Linked DNA regions of Homo sapiens: regions 1, 2, 3, 5, 6 and 7 are each linked to region 4. The links are contacts of gene promoters, found by promoter capture Hi-C in blood cells and fetal thymus (Javierre and others, 2016). All regions are on one chromosome and are shown on one strand. The core of a region is centred on a gene start or on the middle of the fragment in contact, and the rest is flanking DNA. Distances in the headings are between cores, read along the strand shown. Region 1 overlaps SLC25A14 (solute carrier family 25 member 14). Region 2 overlaps OCRL (OCRL inositol polyphosphate-5-phosphatase). Region 3 overlaps OCRL (OCRL inositol polyphosphate-5-phosphatase). Region 4 holds the start of BCORL1 (BCL6 corepressor like 1). Region 5 overlaps SMARCA1 (SNF2 related chromatin remodeling ATPase 1). Region 6 overlaps OCRL (OCRL inositol polyphosphate-5-phosphatase). Region 7 has its middle 54 kb from the start of APLN.

Region 1 (3,487 bases), core at 944-3,443, 370 kb before region 4:
CATATACACCATGGAATACTATGCAGTCATAAAAAAGAACAAAATCATGTCCTTTGCAGTAACATGGATTGAGCCAGAGGCCATTATCCTAAATGAATTAATGCAGGAACAGAAAACCAAAGATAGCATGTTCTCACTTATAAGTGGGAGCTAAATATTGCATACTCATGGACAAAGATGGCAACAATAGACACCAGGGAATAATAGAGGCAGGAGAGAAGGAGGGGGACAAGGGTTGAAAAACTGTTGGGTACTGTGCTCACTATCTGGGTGATGGGATCATTCATATCCCAAACCTGAGCATCATACAATATACCCATGTAATAAACCTGCACATGTACTCCCTGAATCTAAAATAAACGGTGAAAAAAAAACTTGTTCTGTAAACCTAAAATGATATAAAAATTCTGTAAATTACTATCATTTTAGTCCAGAAAGACTGTCTCATATTTTTATCCATCAACCACCAGTGGTTTATTTCATGTGTGTTGTTTTTCATGTCTTTCTCTCTGTTCTCAAACCCCTCTCTGAATTGCAATAAATAGATCTCTCCTTTGCTAACCTAGCCACTTGTGGTTTCACTAGTGGTCAAATTTAAAAAAGCATGTGTCCTCTTACTTTTTTCTCGCAATCCCCTTAAAATAATTTGTTAAAACTTTGGGTTCCCCTCACTTATTTTAATCCTATATTTAGTGCTTTTAACTAATCATAAGCTTAAATACGTTAATAAGTAGAAAATATTTACCATTTTATGAAATAAGATGAAAATTTATATTAAAAGAAATGTTTCAGTCTGTGACTTGAAAAAACCTTAAAGAAATCCAACTATACTCTTAACAAGTCAGCACCACCAACCTATACTATTCTGGTTCTGAATTCAGAATATTCCAATACAGGCCAAAATATACCATGTTTAAAGCCAAATCTCACCCTGAATAGAAATATTAATAAGACAGGGAAAGACAGAGGCATTACAGACTTAAGATACCCAAATTGGTTACTAAAATAGGCTTCTCCAAGAACTGTATTTCAGTTTACCCCTCTGTTTGGCATCCCAGGTTATACCACAGGTCAACATACCATACCAAGATTTAGAATAGGTGGGGACGTACATTTCTTTTGTAAAATTGAGTAAGGGCTATTATGAACAGATTCATTCTCGTACCAGTTTTAGGATGGAGTACAAATGGATGTAAGAGATCTGGAAATTGATTCCTATAAAACTGCATAGCCCTTGGAAAGAACCTATAGGGTCTTGCATACCCCAGTGTGAGGACCAGTGGATTAACACATATCATAATAAACTGACTGCCATTTATTGAGCATCTACTACACCAAGTACAATGATAGGCAGTTTATATATATATTATCGCTAATCCTTTACAACTCTATGTTATAAACACTGTATTATATTCATTTTTCAAATGATGAAATTGAGGCTTAATGCAGTTAACTGATTTGCCCAAGGTTCTACAGCTGGCAAGTGACAGAGTGGGAATCTGAACCCAAATCTGACTCAAAGTTATGCTCCTTTCAAATCACACTGTATCTCTCTTACCTTTAGAACATCGGTGGGATTGGCTATAGTGGAAGATATCACTCCTGACACTACCCCACAGATCATATTAATTAAAAGAGTTTCATCTGTGAAAAGGAAAAGAAAAAGAAAGGTCTGCTTGTATTAGGCACCAGTTTGAGTACATACTACTGACCTACTGGAGGAAGGGAAACTTGGTTAGAGAGATGACTTTAGAAATGAACCAAAAAGCTTAGGAAAATAAAGAAACTCAAATATTTCTAGATCTCAATTCAGTGCTAAAATATATTAAAACTTGTAAAATATAAATCATTTCTAAAAACATCATTATTTCTAAAGGACACTGGAACACGTCCTTTTCTTCTACATAACTATCAGTATCCCACACACAAATTCAGAAGGTGGTATTTCCCCTTCGACCTTTTCAAACATCTAAAGAACATACTTTTTAAGTCTTTTTCTGGGTAATCATCAACTCTAAAGATTCAGGAACTGAATGTTAAAAGAGAAAATCTTACGTCTAATACAAAAAACTTATTTGAATATTAATTTTGATAGGCCTGAGATCTCTCCTAGCCTCTGTTAATTTATAAAATATTTCTGTAGTCAAATATGAAAAAGCAATCATTTAGAACTAAATCTCCTCAGTGAGAAAAAAGAACAAAGAAACCACAGAGCACATTGTTCTATAGTGAAATTCAATCTTTACCGCTCCTTCACACCATGAAGACCCCACAAATAGAAACTAAATAAACCCAAGTGAAGAATCTATGAAAGAAAAATATTTCAGAAAGAGGTGGAAGAGAACCCTTCACAATCCCCAAAAAAAGGCTTCAGAAAAAGTTGACTTTAGGACAATAAAGTGATTCAAAGGACATTACTAACCGAAAGGCTTTCCAGCTGTCCCCAAACATCCAACAGCCCCAGGCCTGTGGTAAAATAACCATTTAGTGTAGTATCATGATGGAAAATGCTACAGCAGCAAACAGACATATGATAATGCTGAATATGCATAAGGTAGCCAAAGGTACATCAGAATTTAGAAAACAGCCTAAAATTATTCTGCCTAATAAAAGCTTATCAAAATTGCCAGCTAGAAAATGCCTTACAGTTGAAGTCCTCTTATTGATGAAGATAGCATTAATTTTCTGGACAAGATTGTTCCATGTTTCTTTTGGGATGATCACATGCCTTTTTTGTTGATAGGAAAAGGGACAAATTTGAAGAACAGGTCTCTCTAATTCATATATCACCTCTGCAAAGATTTATTCCAAGTTAGAACAAGCTCACTTTGTCTTTGCAGTGACTCTCCTCCATTCTCAGGCACCTCATGACCAACATTTCTCACTAAGCATGATTTCAACAATCCCTTTGAGTATCACCTCAAAAGAGGGTAAGTATACTGACCTTCTAAACGTTCTACGAATAAGCGCTTCAAGCTTTGGTAAATCCCAATTTTAATGGTGCCATATGATGCTTGTCTTAGCAACGCAGGAGCAATTCTGAAAAAAAAAAAAGTAAAAAGTTATTCTCAACATTTTCAGATTATACATATCTAGATAGCCTACTTATTTGGACTACCCATCTCATTCTACCCAACAACAGCAGAATATGATTTTTTTCAAGCACTCATGAAACACTCAGCAAGAAACTGAACATTCTGGGTCATAAAACCAACCTCAACAAATTTAAAAGAACTGAAATCATATACAATATGTTATCTGACAATAATGGAATCAAACCAGAAATCAATAAGAAAAATCCTCAAACATTTAGAAATTAAACAATATATATCTAAATAATCTATTGGTCAGACCAAGTGTCTGTCAAAGGAATTTTTTTTTAATTCACAGGTCTAAATGACAACAAAATTCAACCTATTAAAATGTATGAGATGCAGCCAAAGCAGTGCTGAGGGAAATTTACAGCATGAAATGCTTGCATTTTAAA
Region 2 (3,332 bases), core at 267-2,766, 400 kb after region 4:
AGAAACCCCACTTAAAAGACAGCGTGGTTAATGGAAAGAGTATAGGCACTGGTGTTGGACAGGCTTGGGTACAAATCTTCGTTCCACCTCTTGGCAATTTTGTATAGCCCTCACACAAGTTACCAAACTTCATAGAGCCTCAGTTTCTTCATCTCTAAAATAGGGATAGTAATATTTACCTTGAAGCAGCCTAAAACCAATGGGTGATGGGGCAGTATGCCAGCAGAAGGTCTGGGTTCCTCAAAGTTCCTCATACCTCCCCAGTGACTCCCAACCTGGATTGTTTCGAATCTGACTATGGACCACTAAGCACTCAAGTCTAAATTACATGTCTTAGTTCTGCTAGGTAAAAGGAGAAATCCCAATCTTACTGTCTGAGATGCACAGGAGCTGGGAGTGGAGAGGGAGGAGGAAAAGTATGTGCTCCCTGGCATTCCTAGTGGTAATACTGAATGCATTCCTCCCACACTACTGTTATCCATGGGGATTAGGCGTTTTAATATTGGTAGATACTTCACGAATTAAACATGCTTTTGTGGGTTTATCTAGACTCTTAAATATCACATGAAATAAAGCAATTAGAATAGTCTTTATAAGGTACATATTTATAGTACTATAATTACGATACCTTTTAATGTCAAGTTGATTTTGAGTGCCCAACATCTGATACAATTTTAGACTAGAACCTCTTGTAAAATTTAGGACTTGTTATCAAATGAAGAATCTATCTGACACATTTTATATTTTTCCTCCCATGAATATCTAATACATGATATGAATAAAACTAGACAGAGATTTTGTATACTAACCTGTCGAACCAGGCTCTCAAAAAAGTTTTCTTTAAGCAGCAGCCATCCTCCAGTACAAGGCATTGTGCTAAAATGCCTTTGCAGGGGAAGGCAATGAGAAATGAGGATAAAGGAGAAAGACCTGGTTTGTCCCTGACTCTGATTTGCAACTGAGTTGGGGTGAGGAGTTCCAGAGTTTACAGACTGGTATTGTTATAATTCATGAATACGAGTTCTCAATAAATCATTGCTAGCCCTTTAAAAGACTCACAGAATTTTAAAGGGTAGAGATGGGGAGAGAATATTACAAGTGGAAGAGGCAGAAATAAACAAAAGGCACAGAGACAGTAAATCACAAATTGATATTAGGAAGAAGTTAGTCATCTGTTTGTGGGGGGCATGGAGAATGCCAAGAAAAATAGTGTGAAATAAATCTGAAAAGGTATGTTGAAGTCAGACTTAGGAGGACCTTGCATGACAGATTAAGGCATTTGGATTGTATTCAGCAGGCATGGGGAAGCCACTGACTACCTTTAAGCAAGGAAGTGATAGGCCCCAAAGCAGTAGTACAGAAAGATCAATCTGACAGCCCTGAATAGGAAAAAATGAAGGGCAGAGACAGAGACAGAGAGAGAGAGAGAGAGAGAGAGAGAGAGAGAGAAAGACAAAGGGATCATTCAAAGGCTACCGAGGTAGGTCAAGCAGAAGAAGGTAAACATCTTAATAATGGAAAATTTTATACACACACACACACACACACACACACAGGTGTGTGTATATATATATATATAATTTCTAAGTATATATATTAAAGGATATATATATATAATAAAAGGTATATACATACACTTACAAATGAATGAATACAAGAGAAAATTCTGAAAGAAGAATCAAAAGGACTTTGATTAAATACTGATGGAGGGACAAGAGATTTACTTCTCTAGGTACAGGCACAAAGAAACAACATAGAAATTACATTGAATTCAACCTTGGTCTCAATTTTGAAAACAGAAGCATCACTTAACCTTTATTAGTAAACAGCTTACTCCTATAATAATCCTAAGGTTTCTACTATGAATCACTTAGTTCAACCAATTTTAAAGAGCAGAGATGCCCATTCTCTGCAAAAGGCTATATATGGATTACATTTAAAAAGAGAACTTAGTTCAGGATTTCCCCAGTGGGACAACACTGGCACATAGCAAATGCAATGCAAATCATTCTTTACCCCAACATTCACCCTCAGAAGACTGTTCCCCGTGGTAAATGCAGCTAAAATAAAAGAGTCAATTAGAGGTGGAAGATGCAAATTTAAAAATAAAAAGCATAGCCGGGCACGGTGGCTCACGCCTGTAATCCCAGCACCTTGGGAAGCTGAGGCGGGTGGATCACCTGAGGTCAGGTGTTCAAGACCAGCCTGGCCAACACAGTAAAACCCCATCTCTACTAAAAAGGCAAAAATTAGCCAGGCGTGGTGGCGCGCGCCTGTAGTCCCAGTTACTCGGGAGGCTGAGGCAGGAGAGTCACTTGAACTGGGAGATGGAGGTTGCAGTGAGCCAAGATTGTGCCACTGCACTACAGCCTGGCCGACAGGGTAAGACTCCATCTCAAAAATAAATAAATAAATAGCCGAAAACTGAATGGAAAATGAAGTTCTAAAAAGGATTAGTTCATATGAAATAGAGAAGAAATACAAGCCATATACTTAACAGAGTAAGAAATGGATGGTTAGATTAGTAAGACAAAGTAAAAACATAGTGAAAAAAACACTACGGACAAATTAACAAGTTATTCCTGTTATTTCAAACTTTTGATATTGTTCTCCCAACAGATATGTCCCCAAGCAAATATAGTTTCTCTACCCATCCCTCAACTTTTTTCATCTCCGTATTTACAACTTAGCCACATCTGGCAAGTTCAAGTCTTGTCTCCTTTCAATTAGTCCATTCTACAAGTAACACCAGAATGTTCTTCCAACTATATCAATTTGCAACCTCATACTAATCAGCAAACCCTTCTGATGGTTCTAGATACCCTCTGGCTCATGCATAAACTTATCTATTGACTTCAAGACTCTCTACCACCTGCCCCATTCTCCCTAACCAGCTTCATACATTCTTATCCTTGATCTTCACTTGTCCCAGGGAAATCTTACAGTTTTTCATACATGGTCTTTTCACTTTCACCTTCTACCCTTTATTCAAGATGTCCTCTAAGCCTGGAAGAGCCTGCTCACCCACTATATTAATAAGTGTTTCTTAAGTACTTGGACTTGACTGAAAATACTTCTATAACTAACTCCAAATCACCTTCCTAGTTCACTTTATTCTTATGTGCTAAACTTATTTCTCAGTCATGTTAATGTTACATGTATCAAATATTCATTAAAATGAAAACAGGCTGATTCTGATTTCTATAGGGATTAGCTGGTCAGTCAATAAGCTTTTATAGCATATAAGGGCTTGAATAAACAACATAGGAAAGGAACCTATTGTTAATACAAACTACAACCTTCATAGCAGTCACTTTAAACGACTTTCCAAA
Region 3 (3,310 bases), core at 811-3,310, 440 kb after region 4:
TGAGTAAACCTGACTCCCCAGATGAAATCCATACTTCTAAATCCATACGTACTCCTGAAATATTAATTTTTCATTTATTATTTATCCTTAGTGGTCCAGAATCAAGGTACGACCTACTGGTAAACAGCCATTCTGAACGTCAACTAGCATTCTCAAAGTCAAGCACTCTTCAAGTATTGTTTTTAGTTTTTTGTCAGGAACACTCTGTTTCTTTCCGAGTTTCATCTCAAATATCACCTCCTCCATGAAACTGTCCTCAGTACCCCCAAGCAGAACCAGCAGCCTTATCGCCTTTGTTTGCCCCTCTAATAGAACACTTACACACTCCATTATGGTTATATTTATTTCCCCTCACTGATTTCAGCTCCTTGAAAGCAAAGACCAGATCATATTCAGTTTTGTCTGCAGCCTAATAGATGCTCAACAAATACTGGCTGAATAAATTAACTAGCTTAATTAAGCTATAAGCAGCGGTGAATTTTTCAATGAAACTGTCCAACTTCTGACATTAAAATGTCATTGTTTTGAAGGGTTTGATTTCTATTTTGTTGTCTTTTGGGGGTGCTTGTTGCTTTTGCTTTTTGCATTTTCAAATGTGTTAACTTTGAAGAGGATAACCTGGGATAGGATAAGTAATTACTTAGATAGAACTAAGGGAAATAAAAGTATTAATGCTGTTTTTCTGCTGTGATCCTTCTTGCCTAATTTGCAGGGGTTTGTACTCTAAGGTGATTACAGGAATATGGGGCAGGCCCCTTTCCATCTGGAAAGTTCATGAGTTGAGTGGAGAGTCCTATAAACCCAGATGGAAACCAGAAACCAGATAAAAGGCTGAGAAATCAAGGGTTAAGGAGGAAGAGCTTACTTTGAGGAAGATAAACACAAACCACTAAAATCTCAAAATACATAAACAAGAAATGGTGTTGAACATTAGCATTAAAGCTTCATCTGGACAGTACTGTTAAAAACTATTACAAAACAAATAAACTGAGAATTTAAGTGAATTTCACCAACATTTATTGAGTATTTACTACGTGTTACCCACTAAATTACAATAAAAGAGTAGGGCTAAGAATAAGCATAAAAATTCTGAGTGTAATTATTCATTTCAGAATATAAAGATTAGAAATAATTGGTATACAGCAAAACAATGGAATTCAGAATTTGGTAGTTGTCAAACAGAAAAGAGTGACAAATCCTGAATGCCAACTCTGCCTTATCCCTAGGAAACACTTTGATTTGTTCAAGGAAGGTTAAAGGTCAAACAGGTTTTGTCATAATCTATTATCCTTGAAAAATATGAATCTTAAGTGTTTGATTCCCTGTTTCCAAAAAAACCCTGATTTTTAATTGTAATTTTGGTCAAGCAAATTTCCTATGGTTGACAGTAGGAACCACAGACCTAAAGATTTAAGTCAGGCTTCAAGTTCTAGGATAAAAAAGCCAAAAGTAAAAAGTTCTGGACACTCGAGTCAGAAAAGACACCAGAGAGACAAGAATATGAGGATTACAGATGGTATTATGGTATTAGGTGTCTCCAGCAAATGCTTTCAAGAGAAACTTCTCAGTGTAATTCTGAGACATGTTACATAGGATCAGATCTCAGGTATTCTACTCCCTAATTGCAAACAAGTGACTTAACCTGTCTGTGCTTCAATTTCTGTATCTATAAAAGGGGGATGATGATATTACTATCTTATAGTAACCCTCACATGTGGATTAAATGAACTAACTAATGAAAAGGGCTTAGAACAGTACCTGGCACATAAGCAGCCATTGAATGTTAGTTATATAGCAACAACTATATTAGTTGTTAGTTATATGTTAGTTTATATATAAACTATAGTTTATATGTATTTAAAACTATAGTTTATATATATTTAAAACTATTTACATAGTTTATATATAAACTGCTAATATAGCAACAACTATATTAGTTGTTAGTTATATAGTTGTTATATAGTGTTACCTATATATTAATGTTAGTTATATAGCAGCCCCATACCCCCACATATACCCCCAACTATACCCCCATAACTTACACAGAATTGGAACACACGACTTCCTTATTAGCTCAACAGAGTTCCAAATCTACTAATCCGAGGGACTAGATTCTGGGCTGTGGTCATCTCAACAATGTAGCTACTCTATTCAATCTTCATGATTTTGTTTTTACATTAGAGGAAACCAAGGCACACAAGTTTTACTGGTTTGCCCAAGGGTCACCTCTCTGTAACCCACTCTAGCCTTTGGAAATGTTAGTGGTGTTCCACTTTTCTGCTGAATTTTGTTTTATTAAATTCTGAATTTAGTTTAGTTTCATTAAACTAGTCTTCCAGGGTTTGATGAAATCCGGGTTTGATGAACTTCCCAGTAGAGCTGACTAAGCAGGACCTATGAAAGAGCTACTTCACAGAATTAGCTGACATCCAGTTAGAGTGGCACCAATAGTCTCAGAGAAGAGCAGGTTGGGCCAGTGGGAATTTCTTCCGTGTAAATCTGACAGCATAGATACAGAGGATCTAAAAGTGGGGACTGAGAAAATTGGTTTTAGGCAGAAGCCAATGTTGGGAGATGGCAAGATTTAAGTGAACAATTTTTAAACTGGGAAGGAATATGATGTCAAGAAGCCAATGAATATCCAAGTGAGGTGTCTTGGGCACACAGGGATAGGGGCCTATGATACGTAATGGTCACCATGGATATTTTTGAGATAAGATATTAGTGACAATAGAGTGAGGTTAGCAGCTATGGTGATAGCTTATCAAAATAATCTTTTGATCAATCAGTCAACAGTATTTACGGAGCTCCTATGGCAGAGAGGAAGGTGACACACTGATAAAATACTGTCATTTCTATCTCTACACATTTCATTACCTTTTCTTTCTAACAGTAAAGTCAGTAAGTGAGGCAGTTTCTGGCCTACACTAAACCATTACTGAATTAATGAATATGCCTTCAACCCAGTGGGATAAGGGGACGGGGAGACTGGAGAAACCAGCTGAATAGGGTTAAGACAAGTCTGTAACGTTAACAATGAAGCATTTCCATAGCACTTTTACTTTTTGGAAGCCACTCTCGCATTTATTTTTCCCCCAGTTATAATTCCAAAGGCTGTAAGGTAAGGCAGTTAATGGTTTTATTAAACTGAAGAGTTAACTTTGGCCCAGAAAGCTTTATTGACTTGCCCAACGTTACACAACACATGTCAGTTGCAGGGGCAGGAACTAAGAACCCAGGCTTCCTGCTTCCCCGCCCATTCAGTCCTTCCACTGAGCCACACTGCCAAGCACAATCCAGAGGCTTGGAA
Region 4 (3,042 bases), core at 271-2,770:
CCCGGCCCCGCCCCGCCGCCCGCCGGAGCCCCACGCCCCGCCCGCCCGCCCCGCCGCCGGACTGCTCCCCCCGAAGCCCACCACTAAGCCCTCCCACTCCCCGGCCGCGATCCGCTCGAATCCAGCTCCGCTGGGCCTGCTGTCCGTCCCTCACGCCCCTTAGGACCCGGGGTGGGGGAGCCCTGGGGTTCGCGGCCATCCCTCTCCCTCCTTCTCCAAGGGCCGGGGGATTGCCCCTGATCCCGAAACCCGGCCCCGTAACCGGAGCCTCCCTCCTTCCAGCCCTCGGCTTCGCTCGCCGACCCCTTGCCTCCAGGCCTGGCGCGAAGCGGGTGGAGGGCTTGCACGCCGGATCTCCCCTCTGGCTTGCCGGTGCTAGTATGAATTGCCCCCGATCTCATCTTCCTTCAATTTAAGCCCCCTCCCCGCCGCGCCCGGCCCGGCGGCCCCCGCCCCTAGAGCGAGGGCAGCGGAGCCAGGGCGCTCCGAAGTCATCCCCCGCCTTTTTTCCAGGGACTCGGATAATTGCCCCTGCCCCCATCACAGCACTCCCACTCCCGAACCCAGGCCCCGCCGCCACCTAGGGGTACCCCTTACCCTACGATTCCCGCACCCCAGCGCCGGGAAGAAAGCAGCCCTGAAGAGCACCCGTCGCACCTCCCCTCTGAGGTTGGAGGGCATTTTCTCCCGGTCTCTTCAACACTTCATCACGGACACCCCCCCCCCCCAAAAAAAAGCCTTTTCTCGCCCTGCCCTGCTAGCCAGCCTCCCTTCGGATCGTCGGATCCTTGGATCGGGGGTTGGAGTCAGGTAGTTAACAAGACCATAGCCTCCACCTCCCTTTCCGAGGAGTGGGGTAATTCCTATGGTTTCCCCCCCAGGATCAACCGACCCCCGTTTCCATGGAGACCCCCGCCCAGCCGGGAAGAAGACTCTCTTGGATCGTGGCGAACGAGTCTCACCTGGCTAAGAGAGAAGGGGGTCGAGAAGGGGGTAGGGCAAGTCAGGGGATGGGGTACGAAGGTGGGAAGTGGAAGGGAGCTGTCCCGAAGGGAGGGGCGAAGACATACCCAGCTCCAGGGAGCGCTACGTCCGGGGACACGAAGAGGACGGCGCCCCCGGGGGGCAAGCCGAGCGGCCGCAGGGAAAAGAAGGAACAGGGTTGGAGAAAGGCTTAAGATAGAAAGAAGCGGGTGGGGGGATACGAAAAAGCCGGGGAGTCAAAAGGGGTGGAGGGATTGGGGGAGAGAGAAAAAAGACGCACCTGTTCCCGGGTCGGCTCCGCGGGGAGGCTCAGGCCGCCACCCGGGCTCCCTCTTACTCCCTCTTAACCGCCACCCGCCTAATACTGCCCCGATCTGATGCCCCCCTCCGCCCCTTATCGCCACCGACCTCCTTCTCCTCTCTCTCGGCGGCGGCGGCGGTCGGACTCTAGGAACTGAGAGGAAGAAGGGAGGGCTCAGCAAAGCGGAGGAGAGACAGAGCCACACACTGGCAGCAGCCGCGGCGAGCGAAAGAGTGAGGGGGAGAGCGGTGTGTGTGTGTGTCTGTGTGCGAGCGAAGCCTGGTGGAGTGGGTGCCGGTCGCAGGGCTCGACGGGAAGTGGAGTCCGGCTGGGTCCGCGGGCGGCGCCAACCCCCGCTCCACCGGACTACAACTCCCAGAATGCGGCCTACGCGGGTGGGGGGGAATGGGGAGGAGGAGGCGAAGGGAGGGAGCGAGCAAGAGAGGGAGGGACGAAAGCAGGGAGCAAGCGGCGGCGAAGGGGGCAGAGCCAAGCAGCCCCGGTGACACTGGGAGGGGAGGAGAGGAGGAGGGGATCGCTGAGAGGACCGAGCGGATTCCGGAGAGGGAGGCAGCAGTGGCTGCAGCAAGCCGGGCAAAAAGCTAGACTCCTGGGAGAGGCGGAGGCGCTCAATCTGCGGGGCTGCAGGAGCCCCACGTCCCCCCCCACCTCGACGCCCCTCGAAGGGGGAGGTTGAGGAAGGGAGAGGGTCAGTGAGCCGCGGCCAAAGGGTTCTCTCTCTTTCTTCCAACGTTCTCCACCTTATGCCCCGACCTGACTTTCTCAGGCCACTGGTGCCGATCCAGTGTGCAAATCTCGAGACCCCAGATCTCCTCTGCCGGGCAGCGGAGAACAGACGCATTCAGTCCCCTTCTCCCAGGGGCCTGAGGGAGGCTCCCCTTGCAGGCAGGGCGTGACTCCCCCTTCTTCCCGCTCCCCCCCCCACCGTCGTCGCCACCCCCCCATCTCCCTCCCCGGAACCCCTCCCCTGAAGCCGGGGCTCGCCTCTCTCTCTCCCCGCCAAGACACGGAGTCCTTCTGGGGACGACTACCCAGCCCCCTCCCTTATACTGGGCCCCTACCCACCAGTATCCCCTTCTTAGCGTTGCCCCCTCACCGAAATAATGGTGGGGGCGACCCGAGTTGGACTGGTGGCTACTTTCCCTCCAAGGCTAGCCGTCCTTCGCCACGCCGACCCTGTGTAGAAATAGAGAAGCATATTAATACTCCCGTCCCCCCTCCCCCCCAGATTTGAATACCCGTGGAAGTGGCTCACAAGAAAGAGGGGTTGGTAGTGGAAGTGAGCTAGGGGTGAATCCCAATCTTCAAACCTCATCCCTCCCATGGAAATCCAGGTATTCGCCTTTTGCTTAAAAGCCATTAAATCGCTTGGGTGGGGGGTAAATTATCTAAACCCCAATGTCCATGCGACTCGAAGCGACGCTACCTTGTAGGAATAAGATACGAACTAGGTTGCCGCCACGGGAAGGAAAGTATCCCCCACCCCCGTCGCCGTCCACCCCCAAAAACACATACCCCTAGGAGAGTCAGATGGCTGAAGAAGGGGGAAGGCGGTGGGAGTGCTGGAGAGTAAAAGGACTGTGGCGGGGAGGGTCCGCGGCCCCCACTACGAGAGCAGAATCCAGATGCTAAGAGGTGGGTGGGGGGTGCGGCACAATCGCAGACTGTGTCTTTCCTCGCTTTTCCCGGAATCGCCGCCCGATCACCGTCTAACACTCGGAGTTGCTTACCACTCA
Region 5 (3,131 bases), core at 1-2,500, 460 kb after region 4:
CCAGGAGCCCTCGTCCCCTGCCTTGTCCCCCTACTCGTTCCCGCTCCCACGGCATGGAGCAGGACACTGCCGCAGTGGCAGCCACCGTGGCAGCCGCGGATGCGACCGCCACTATCGTGGTCATAGAGGACGAGCAGCCCGGGCCGTCCACCTCTCAGGAGGAGGGAGCGGCCGCCGCGGCCACCGAAGCCACCGCGGCCACGGAGAAGGGCGAGAAGAAGAAGGAGGTAAATAGGAAGGGGGTGTGTGTGTGGTGGACAAATCCTGTGCCTGGCCCCTCTGAGGGGCCCAAACCCTGACCTTTCGGCGCCGACAGGTACCCGCGGAGCTTTGCGGGGCTAGGGGCGGCGGGTGCGGGGGTCGGCGGCGGAACCGCCTGGCGTTCGCTCCCCTCCCCCTTTCCTTCTCGCCGCCTGGAGGACGGGGGCGGGGCTGGGCGCGGGCGGGAGCGGCGCGGGGTGGAGGGGTGCCCGCTCTCCCGGGGCCTGGGGGCTCGGGAGCCCCTCGACAGCCCCCGACCCCCTCCACCTTCCCGGAACTCGGGTAACGGGGTGGGGGATGGGGCTGTGCAGGAAAAAGCCTCCGCCTCTCCCTCTCCTCTCGCTCGCTCCCTCTCCCCCCGCCTTCCCGTCGGCCTCTGCCTGGGAAATCTGGGCCCTTCAATCCCACACTCGCGCTAAAGGGGTTTTGCTGGGGCTTTTTTTGTAATTTGAATTTCAAGGTGCTGGTGGTTGCTGGGTGGAGGGTGACAGGGAAGACATTTCTTTCTTTCATTGGCAATGTCGGTCTTTTGGATGGCAGGAAAAAAACCATCCCTTGTTCGTTTGAACCCCGCCTGCCGAGGTGGGGGTGTCACCCCGAGGAAAGGAGCTCTCTGCGTCGTACCCCCCCGCCCCCCCAAACTGAGGAACCGTGGACGCTGGCTTAGGAAAATTTCCAACATCTGCACCCTCACCCTCTTCTGCCCCGCCCCCGACGGTATAGGGTTTCACTCCAGGGCCACCCCAATGGTCCCTCAATCCGGCCCCAAGCTTTCCAGGCTTCCGCCTCCCTCTCCTAGTGGGCGCTGCTGGCTCCTGGACACACACAGGTTTTTTTTTTTTTTCTCCTTTAATTTTTAAAAAACTCAGCGTCGCCAAGATGAGCTGCTTCTAACGTAAGGGAACTGCTCTGACACATATTAAAGCCAATCCAGAAAATATGTATTATCTCCATAAGGCACATTTCGTGTGGCCCGAGACATGCAAATAAAACTATAAAACGTTGAAAAATTGACATAAAAATAGGATGGGGCATAAGCATTTTTGATGTATGATAAAATTGCATAACTAATGGTTTATGTGTGGATTTTTTCCTATTTACGAGTAGTCATATCGCAATTTTAAAAAGGTGGGTAATTATGCTTTAGAGATCTCAAGTGGCTTTGTCTGAATCATTATATGATACTATACGACCAAATGAAAAGCTTTTGAGGAAAATGAACACCTTTCGCCTTAAATGAGAAGAGTAATTTTAAATTTAGCAGTTGCTTCTGTGACATATTTTACTATTACAAGGTTGACTAAACAGAAGGACAATTGTAGTGCTAAATGAAAACCGTAGAAAACATACACATTGTAAGATCTACGCGGTACTTGGATTAGTAAGACAATATTGTTGGTTAAAAGTGGGTGTAATACCAAGCATCAATATAAATCAAATGTTGTGAAATTCGGAAATGTCTGTGTGCCTTTTATTCCCTGGACTGGGCAAATGTGAGTGCCAAACTGCCTTTTGTATGGCAGGAGAGGTTGTCGAATTTCCAGATTGTATAAATTTTTGAATTTTGTATAAAATTTTGTATTGTGAAAAAACGGGAGACCAATAAAAAAGCTATATAATATAAACACTGAGTTGATGCCTACATATTTGTCAACTCTTGCCTCATTAGAAATTGCCCTACCAGTACTTCATTTGTCCACCCAGGACAGGGAAATGAGGTGCTGTATGTCAGGAACTTCCTGGATATCCATTTTTATTTTTAATTTTTCCTTAAAAAATGAAATACATTACATACTACCTTGACACTTTAAATTGCATACTAAAAGTGCAGATTAACCTCTTCTTCATGGCCATCAGTTAGTGTACTTTGACAGTGACACAAAGGCACCTGAAATCCCGCAGGTTGTTCCCTCTCAATTAAGTAACCACCTACCAGACTCTTGCAGTGTTGTGTTGATTTTTAAAAATAATTTTTCCAGCCGGGCGCGGTGGCTCGCGCCTGTAATCCTAGCACTTTGGGAGGCCGAGGCGGGTAGATCACTTGAGGTCAGGAGTTCGAAACCAGCCTGGCCAATATGGTGAAACCCCGTCTCTACTAAAAATACCAAAAAAAAAAAATTAGCCAAGTGTGGTGGCAGGCACCTGTAATCCCAGCTACTTGGGAGGCTGAGGCAGGAGAATCGCTTGAACCCGGAAGGCTCAGGTTGCAGTGAGCCGAGATCCCACCACTGCACTCCAACCTGAGCAACAGAGTGAGACTCCGTCTCAAAATAAATAAATAAATAAAAATTTTCTGTCTTCTTCCTTAATTGCCAGGCTGTTAGCGATCACTTTTTAAACACCTCTAGTTTCACCAGAAATAATATGTTAGTTTATGATAAAGATTATAGGTGTAACAAAACCATAAACTCATTTGAAAACCACTGTAAAATACAAAAGTGTCAGTGATAAAACAGGGAGAGGGAAATAATGACACGTGCACACCAAGAATCAGTGATGCTACTGCAGTGGAAGACATTTTCGTCCTTGGTTTCTGCCGTGTCTTCTTGTAGAGTGCCTTCATCTAGTGATCTTTCCATGTCATTTACTGTTGCTTGTATTCTCGGTGACATGGGAAGCCAGATTTTCAAACTTGGTGGAATTGTCTACCAAATAAAAAGAAAATAGGTTTCTGAATGAGAGCGCTTTCATGATGAATACAGTAGATGAGAATTAGTGAATTGACCTGTGACATTTACCTACTCAAAGGTGTTTTTGCTTACTTTCTGGTTGTTGAATTTAGTTGGTTTAAGTGACGGTTGGATTACCCAACACTGTAGACATGAAAACGTCAAGAAAAAGGTCATGGTCTTTAAAACAAGCCATTTTGT
Region 6 (2,914 bases), core at 1-2,500, 420 kb after region 4:
ATTACACACAGAGAAGAATTCAATTAAACTATTCTTTTGGAACAAGTTGTAGATAATGGAATAACTCCCGGTGAGCCCTATTTAGTCATACACTTAAAAAGATAATTAAATGCGGCTTACTTTCTTATACTTGGCTTTGGAATGCAAACCTCTCTCTACAGCCATGGACCATTCTTGTTCCTTCACAGATTCAAAGTAGAAGAAGGCTTCTGTGCTCAAGTCCAGTTCTTGGAATCTGAGGAAAAAAGGGATATGAGATCTATACATATCCCATAATTATCTCTGGCTACCTCCTGTCCCATATGTTGAAACATTAGATGAAAAAAAGATGGGAGAGAGATAAATTTTATAGAACTGCTCTGTTCACCCAGGTTATCAGTAAGAACAAGTAGCTTTCTTTTCTAAAGAATTCCCACAAGTACATTCATAAGCTATGCAAAAAATAAATCAAAATACCTCCCACAGAGGATAACAGCAGAGCTTTGCTCTTATATCCTAGGAACTGTCACTGTTAGAACTGACCCCAAGTCTTAGTTTCTATGCAGAATATATAGATTCCTACGGGTTTCAAGAAAATTAGATGCTTCCTTACACCATTTTAGGTATCTGTTCATTTCTGTTCTCACAAATTTGACCCGCAAGTTAACTCTCGTGTATAGTCTACAGTAGGTTTTACCAACAGTCTTTTTTAAAAAAGGCAAAACATCATGTAAATGAACACCAAACATATAGCCAAAAGGAAATTCCAGAAGTGTTCTTTACCCAATGCAGTAGATATCAGGAGGATTGGGATCACAGTTCAGCCAAGGTTCTAACCCGCTATCTGGAGACTGGCCATTCACATTCCAAGTTCCAACAAAAAATCTAATACATAATACGAAAAGATAATTTGAAAACAAAGATCAAGTATAAACCAACAGAAGTTCTTTCTTTTCGCTTCCATACAAAGGTATGTTCACAATATGCTAACATAATTCCTCAAAATGTTTTGCCACATATGTAAGAAAGATCTTTTGCATCTAGAACACAAAGGCAGTGGGCTTATTTTCTCTAAATTTTACATTAAGTAAAACTACAGAAGGAAACCAAGTCTTTATTTTTAAAAAATGCAAAGGTAATTGCTATACCACATTTCCTTTCAATTAAGCTCCATCCAAACTCATACTTGATAGGAGAGCTTATGGATGGGAAAGAGGTATCTTCATGCTGTAAGCTAGTCAAATATGGATAAATGTTCTATAAGGGGCTATAGTTGACTCCAGGAACTCACTTCCTGAAGGATTACAAGGACATCTGTGTAGGAAATTCTGATGAGGCAGACATAGTATTAAGGGGGAAAGCAGAAGGGAAAACTCATGACTGTCTTAACTGTTTACACACAAATATAAGCATAGTGGGGGATATGAGGAACTGCAAGTTTTAGCATAGGGATATAGTTATGACTGAATTAGAATAAATGAGGTATGACAGGATAGCAGATGGGACTAGAATCTTGGACTAGAAGGGTACATTCTGCTCATGAATAACAAAGAAATGTGGTGTTGCTTCATGCATTGGCGATACATGCCACATGGTACCTCACATGCAGCATACACACACAAGTCCAGAAAAAAGATGAAATAAAAAATAATACAGATAAAAGAACCCAAGATAGACCTCCCAATCAAGAGGACTGGGTGAAACTTTCTTTATTTACCAAAGTAAGTAAGTTAAGAGCTAGTGGTAATGATGGACTTTAATTTTCTAATATTGGCTGAAAAAAAAAAACTTAACAGGCCAGATATATAAACACGCTTGCTTATGGAATGTGCTAGGGGAAAATTCTCTAGTACATGTGACCTTGATTTGGTTCTCTAGGACTCAGTAGAGACATTAGTAGACATGGCATTATTAGTAGTTAGAAAATCCAAGGGAAGGCCAAGCACGGTGGCTCAAGCCTGTAATCCTAACACTTTGTGAGGCCAAGGCGGGTGGATTGCCTGAGCTCAGGAATTTGAGACCAGCCTGGGCAACCTGGTGAAACCCAGTCTCTATAAAAAACACAAATATTAGCTGGATGTGGTGGTGTGCACCTGTAGTTCCACCTACTTGCAGGGCTGGCGTGGGAGGATTGCTTACGACTGAGAGGTTGAGGCTACAGTAAGCCATGATCTATCTGCTCTCCAGCCTGGGTGACAAAGAGAGACCCTGACCCACACACACAAAAAAAGAAAATCCAAGGGAAACTGTAGCATCTGCATTATTTCTGATATGCATGTTATTGGCCAGCATAGAGACAGGAGCTTGAAACAGGCAACCATTCCTTTTTATCATATTTTGATTCTTAATTAGGCTAATGTCTTAAATATCAACAGGCCACTGTCTGTTATATATACTAACTTTTTAGACTCAGGAAGCAAAAGAGACACTAACCTGAAAGTCTGAATGTTGACATATTCTTTCTCTCGCTTTGCCAGGATATGTTTGATGAGACCCTCCCGCTGCCCAGATTGGGTATTTGGTACAAAGAGCTTCCGCATGGTGTTGGTCACTTTGGGCTGCTCCTTGTTAGAAGCTTCTTTTTCACGTGGAAGCCTAGCAAATAAATGAGAGATTCAAAAGTAAAATTGTTTAAACTATAATTCTCCTACAAGGCAAATATGTTTTCACATGGGACTTACATTTTATTCACTGAAAAGGGTGGAGGTGGGGGTTCCCGATGAATCCCAGTAGGCTGATTTTGTGAATTTATTTTCTTGTCCAAATTCATAGAAGAAAAATTGTCTTCAAATCCAAGAAGCCCTGAAAGACACAGACCCCAAAGTCAAACGGGGAAAAAATCTAACATCCAACATATCCAGGGTAACAGGGCTTTGATTTGATCACAATTTGATCAGTGGTATTACTAAACAGAAAACTATCATAAGGGTAGAAA
Region 7 (3,319 bases), core at 510-3,009, 380 kb after region 4:
GGTGAGTGGAGGTAAGAAAGTGGGGACAACAAGTGGAGACAACTCGTTCAAGAAATGTGGCTCATACCTGTAATCTCAGCACTTTGGGAAGCCGAGGTGGGTGGATCACCTGACGTCAGGAGTTCGAGACCAGCTGACCAACATGGTGAAACCCTGTCTCTACTAAAAATATGAAAAATTAGTCGGGCGTGGTGGCATGTGCCTGTAATCCCAGCTACTAAGGAGGCTGAGGCAGGAGAATCACTTGAACCTGGGAGGCAGAGGTTGCAGTGAGCCGAGATCGCGCCACTGCACTCCAGCCTGGGCAACAGGAGCGAAATTCTGTCTCAAAAAAAAAAAAAGAGAGAAAAAAAAAAAAAAGAAAAGAAATGAGAAATGTGATTGTGGAGGGGATGATAGAATGGTAGAGGAGGAAACTTCTATCCTTCAGCCATCACCCCCACGTATCAGGTCCAACAGTCCTAGAAGTGAGTGAAGAAATTCTATTACGATTTTACCACTATTCCATGGCTCCAAAATCCTTGTATTAGTTTCCCAGGGCTGCAGTAACAAAGTACCACAGTGGGAGGCTTAGAAACATGTTGTCTCACAGATCTGGAGGCCAGAGTGTGAAATCGAGGTCAGCAGGGTTGGTTCCTTCTGAGGGCTGTGAAAGAGAATCTGTCTCATGCCCATCCTGAGCTTCTGATGGTTTGCTGGCAATTTTTGGCATTCTTTGGCTTAGAGATGCATCACCCTGATCCCTGCCTTTGCCTTTACACAGTGTTCTCCCTGTGTGTGTGTCTCTGTCCAAATTTCCCTTTTTTATAAGGAAACCAGTTATATTAGATTAGGGCCCACCCTACTCCCAGTATAACCTCATCTTACTTAACTAATTATATCTGTGACGAGTCTATTTCCAAATAAGGTCACATTCACAGGTACTGGGGATTAGGACTTCAACATATCGATTTTGGGGGGATACAACTGAACCTGTAACAAGCCCCATTCCCTTTTGGTCTCCTTCCTCTCCACTTTGCTGTGCCATCTTCTGGCCAGGGATTAGTCTGTTTCTTCCCAGGTCACAACTGTGTTTCTCCCCGCCTCTCCAACTGCCTCGATTGATTCCATCGTTCCTTCCCAGCTGACCCCTCTCCAGAGAAGATCGAAGTCATTACCTTTCAGCAGTGAGATCACCTCCCAACCATTGTTGACACTTTCAAAATAACTTGAAACATTGATGGACAGTGAAAGAGGCAAGAGAGGAAAATGTGATTTAATTCTACCTGTGTTCAATGAAGAGTGCTGAAACTTCCATGAACTTTAGATACTTTTAACCTAGTTCTGAAAAAAAAAAGTTTTTGTTTTTGTGGACTTTTAAGGCCATAAGTAAGAGACTGTAAGGAGAAAAGTCAACCGAATTTCCCAAAATAGAAATGATCATGAAATAAGAAAAGTAACTGCAGCTTTAAATACCAATTTTATTATACAACTGGAAACCGTCATTCTCCTCTGCCATCTAGTGGCCACAGCTACAATCAGAAAACGATCCTTGCTCTTCAAAGCCAGGGCCACCGTTAGAGGTAGAGGGGTATAGCCCATTGTTGTCAAATGGCCTTTACAAGTGTGCTTGGCCCGTGGACATGCCTTAGAACTCCATGCTCCACGGTGCTGCCTCCGAGGTGCACAGTCAAGATGGGACCTTTGCTGCCCAGCTGTGTCAGCAGCTGGAGGACAGATGCCTGCGGGTGCGAGGGAGAGGGCAGGCTTGTGATGTGAGGGAGCTGCGGTGAGCGACTGTGCTGGCAAGGCCCTGTCCAGCCGCCTATGTGCTTGAGCAGGACACTGTGTTCATTCATCCCAACACACAGAAGTGCCTTTCTTTCATGAAATAATGTTTTCCTTAATCTTTTTCTGATTATAAAAGTCATACATCTTCATTGTAGAGCATTTAGAAAACCAGACATATAAATAAGAGTAAAAAAAAAAAAAAATTGAGATTGGCTCCAGAGAGTGGCTTGGGGGCTTTATCCTAATCTCCATCAGCACCCCCATAGTGACTCTGAATATAGATGCAGTGTAAGGCAAAACCCTGCTTGCTAAGCAAAGGCCATCTTGCAGCTTCAAGACGAATCCCCTAGCCTACCTTTCGATGGTTTCTAAACCCTCCTATGTAGACATTCTGAAGCCACGACTGCCCATGATGCCACCCTCTAGGGGTGACTGCTATTAACAGTTTGGAGAATGGACTTCCACTATTTTTGTGCCTATGTATTATCTTTATATCTGATATTTTAAATTTAGGAACATTAGGTACATACCTACTTATATGCTGCCTTTTCCACCTCATGTTATATCCTAACATTTTTCCACATCACAATTCCTCAAAAACATTATTTGAAAAGGCGCCATAATATATCCATAAACATCTACAATGTGTTTACCCTTCTTCTGGTGATGAAGGTTATGTAAATTGCTTTGTTTTTTGTGCTAATGAGTATGTTGAGATGAACAGGGGTGGACTTACGCCATTGCGCTCCTCTAGGGTGATTTCCTAGAAGTGAAATTACGAGTGTGAATGCTTCCAGGCTCTTAATGCATGTTGCCACATTGCTTTTAGAAAGGTGACACTTATTTACTCTTGTCCAAGCAGCAGGCGGGCTTGTTTTTCCTTGCCTTTGCCAACACTGGAATAATCAATGATGAAGATTACTGGATGCCAGGCATCAGGCTAGCTGCTGGAGATATGATAGTAAGGGGAGGAAAAGATGTGGTCTCTGCCTCAGCAGCGTTCCTGAGCTGGTGGGAGAGAGTGACCTTGATCAAATAATAAATGTGTAATTACAAAGTGAAGGAGAGGAAAGGGTGCAAGGAGAGCGTGTCACAAGGACATGTTACAGCCTAGGCTAGGAGGTGGCCAGGGAAAGCTCCTCAGAGAAAGTGTTGTTTTCGCAGAGACTGAGGCCTTGGGAGGAGTTGGCTCTGTGGTGAGAGGGAGCAAGGAGCAGACAAGGACAGAAGTCCAGTCTGAAAAAATGGGGGATGGGTCTACGGCCATACCACCGTGAATGTGCCTCATCTCATCTGAAAGAATGGGGGATGGCAGGATGTGGGAGGAGGCTTGAGTCCATGACAAGCAGACAAGCCAAGGCTTGTGGGTCCAGGTAAGAATTCTGGGACCCAGAGAGGGGTGATGTGATCAGACTTGCCTTTGGAAAATCACTTAAGATAAAAAAAAAATGTTAATCATGGTAAAAAGCACAAAACAGGGGCCAGGCACGGTGGCTCATGCTTGTAATCCCAGCACTTTGGGAGGCTGAGGGCAGATCACGAGGTCAGG

The links. Contacts are between HindIII fragments. The CHiCAGO score rates a contact against its expected background, and 5 or more counts as called.
Region 1: a contact is called between a fragment that was not itself captured here and the fragment with the promoter of BCORL1 in region 4, in 1 of 17 cell types (non-activated CD4 T cells). The highest score is 5.5, in non-activated CD4 T cells.
Region 2: a contact is called between a fragment that was not itself captured here and the fragment with the promoter of BCORL1 in region 4, in 11 of 17 cell types (M2 macrophages, activated CD4 T cells, M0 macrophages and 8 more). The highest score is 7.9, in M2 macrophages.
Region 3: a fragment that was not itself captured here is called in contact with the fragment with the promoter of BCORL1 in region 4 in 7 of 17 cell types (M2 macrophages, total B cells, non-activated CD4 T cells and 4 more); the score reaches 9.4 in M2 macrophages.
Region 5: a contact is called between a fragment that was not itself captured here and the fragment with the promoter of BCORL1 in region 4, in 1 of 17 cell types (naive CD4 T cells). The highest score is 5.7, in naive CD4 T cells.
Region 6: a contact is called between a fragment that was not itself captured here and the fragment with the promoter of BCORL1 in region 4, in 2 of 17 cell types (total B cells and M1 macrophages). The highest score is 5.6, in total B cells.
Region 7: a contact is called between a fragment that was not itself captured here and the fragment with the promoter of BCORL1 in region 4, in 14 of 17 cell types (non-activated CD4 T cells, total B cells, M2 macrophages and 11 more). The highest score is 18.0, in non-activated CD4 T cells.

Annotation. Positions count from the first base shown.
Region 1 is chrX:130,348,803-130,352,289 of GRCh38, reverse strand. SLC25A14 (solute carrier family 25 member 14) reads right to left here. Exons shown (of 11, transcript NM_001282195.2): 5 at 2,945-3,039; 6 at 1,559-1,644. Among named protein-coding and RNA genes, the nearest start is that of SLC25A14, 11 kb to the right of the region's middle. The HindIII fragment of the contact is 845 bases long and covers 1,771-2,615 here.
Region 2 is chrX:129,579,949-129,583,280 of GRCh38, reverse strand. All of the region lies in intron 18 of OCRL (OCRL inositol polyphosphate-5-phosphatase), which reads right to left. Among named protein-coding and RNA genes, the nearest start is that of OCRL, 41 kb to the right of the region's middle. The HindIII fragment of the contact is 3,432 bases long and covers 1-3,232 here.
Region 3 is chrX:129,540,990-129,544,299 of GRCh38, reverse strand. All of the region lies in intron 2 of OCRL (OCRL inositol polyphosphate-5-phosphatase), which reads right to left. Among named protein-coding and RNA genes, the nearest start is that of OCRL, 2.4 kb to the right of the region's middle. The HindIII fragment of the contact is 2,232 bases long and covers 945-3,176 here.
Region 4 is chrX:129,981,113-129,984,154 of GRCh38, reverse strand. BCORL1 (BCL6 corepressor like 1) reads right to left here and starts at 1,520. Exons shown (of 14, transcript NM_001379451.1): 1 at 1,393-1,520. RefSeq lists a silencer at 455-691. The HindIII fragment of the contact is 8,398 bases long and covers 1-3,042 here.
Region 5 is chrX:129,520,293-129,523,423 of GRCh38, reverse strand. SMARCA1 (SNF2 related chromatin remodeling ATPase 1) reads left to right here. Exons shown (of 25, transcript NM_001282874.2): 1 at 1-227. The coding sequence starts at 54. Among named protein-coding and RNA genes, the nearest start is that of SMARCA1, 1.6 kb to the left of the region's middle. The HindIII fragment of the contact is 434 bases long and covers 1,034-1,467 here.
Region 6 is chrX:129,558,500-129,561,413 of GRCh38, reverse strand. It overlaps OCRL (OCRL inositol polyphosphate-5-phosphatase), which reads right to left. Exons shown (of 24, transcript NM_000276.4): 7 at 2,661-2,781; 8 at 2,413-2,574; 9 at 763-864; 10 at 121-235. Among named protein-coding and RNA genes, the nearest start is that of OCRL, 20 kb to the right of the region's middle. The HindIII fragment of the contact is 2,612 bases long and covers 1-2,556 here.
Region 7 is chrX:129,599,503-129,602,821 of GRCh38, reverse strand. No RefSeq gene overlaps it. Among named protein-coding and RNA genes, the nearest start is that of APLN, 54 kb to the left of the region's middle. RefSeq lists enhancers at 1,230-1,730, 1,731-2,231. The HindIII fragment of the contact is 5,330 bases long and covers 1-3,319 here.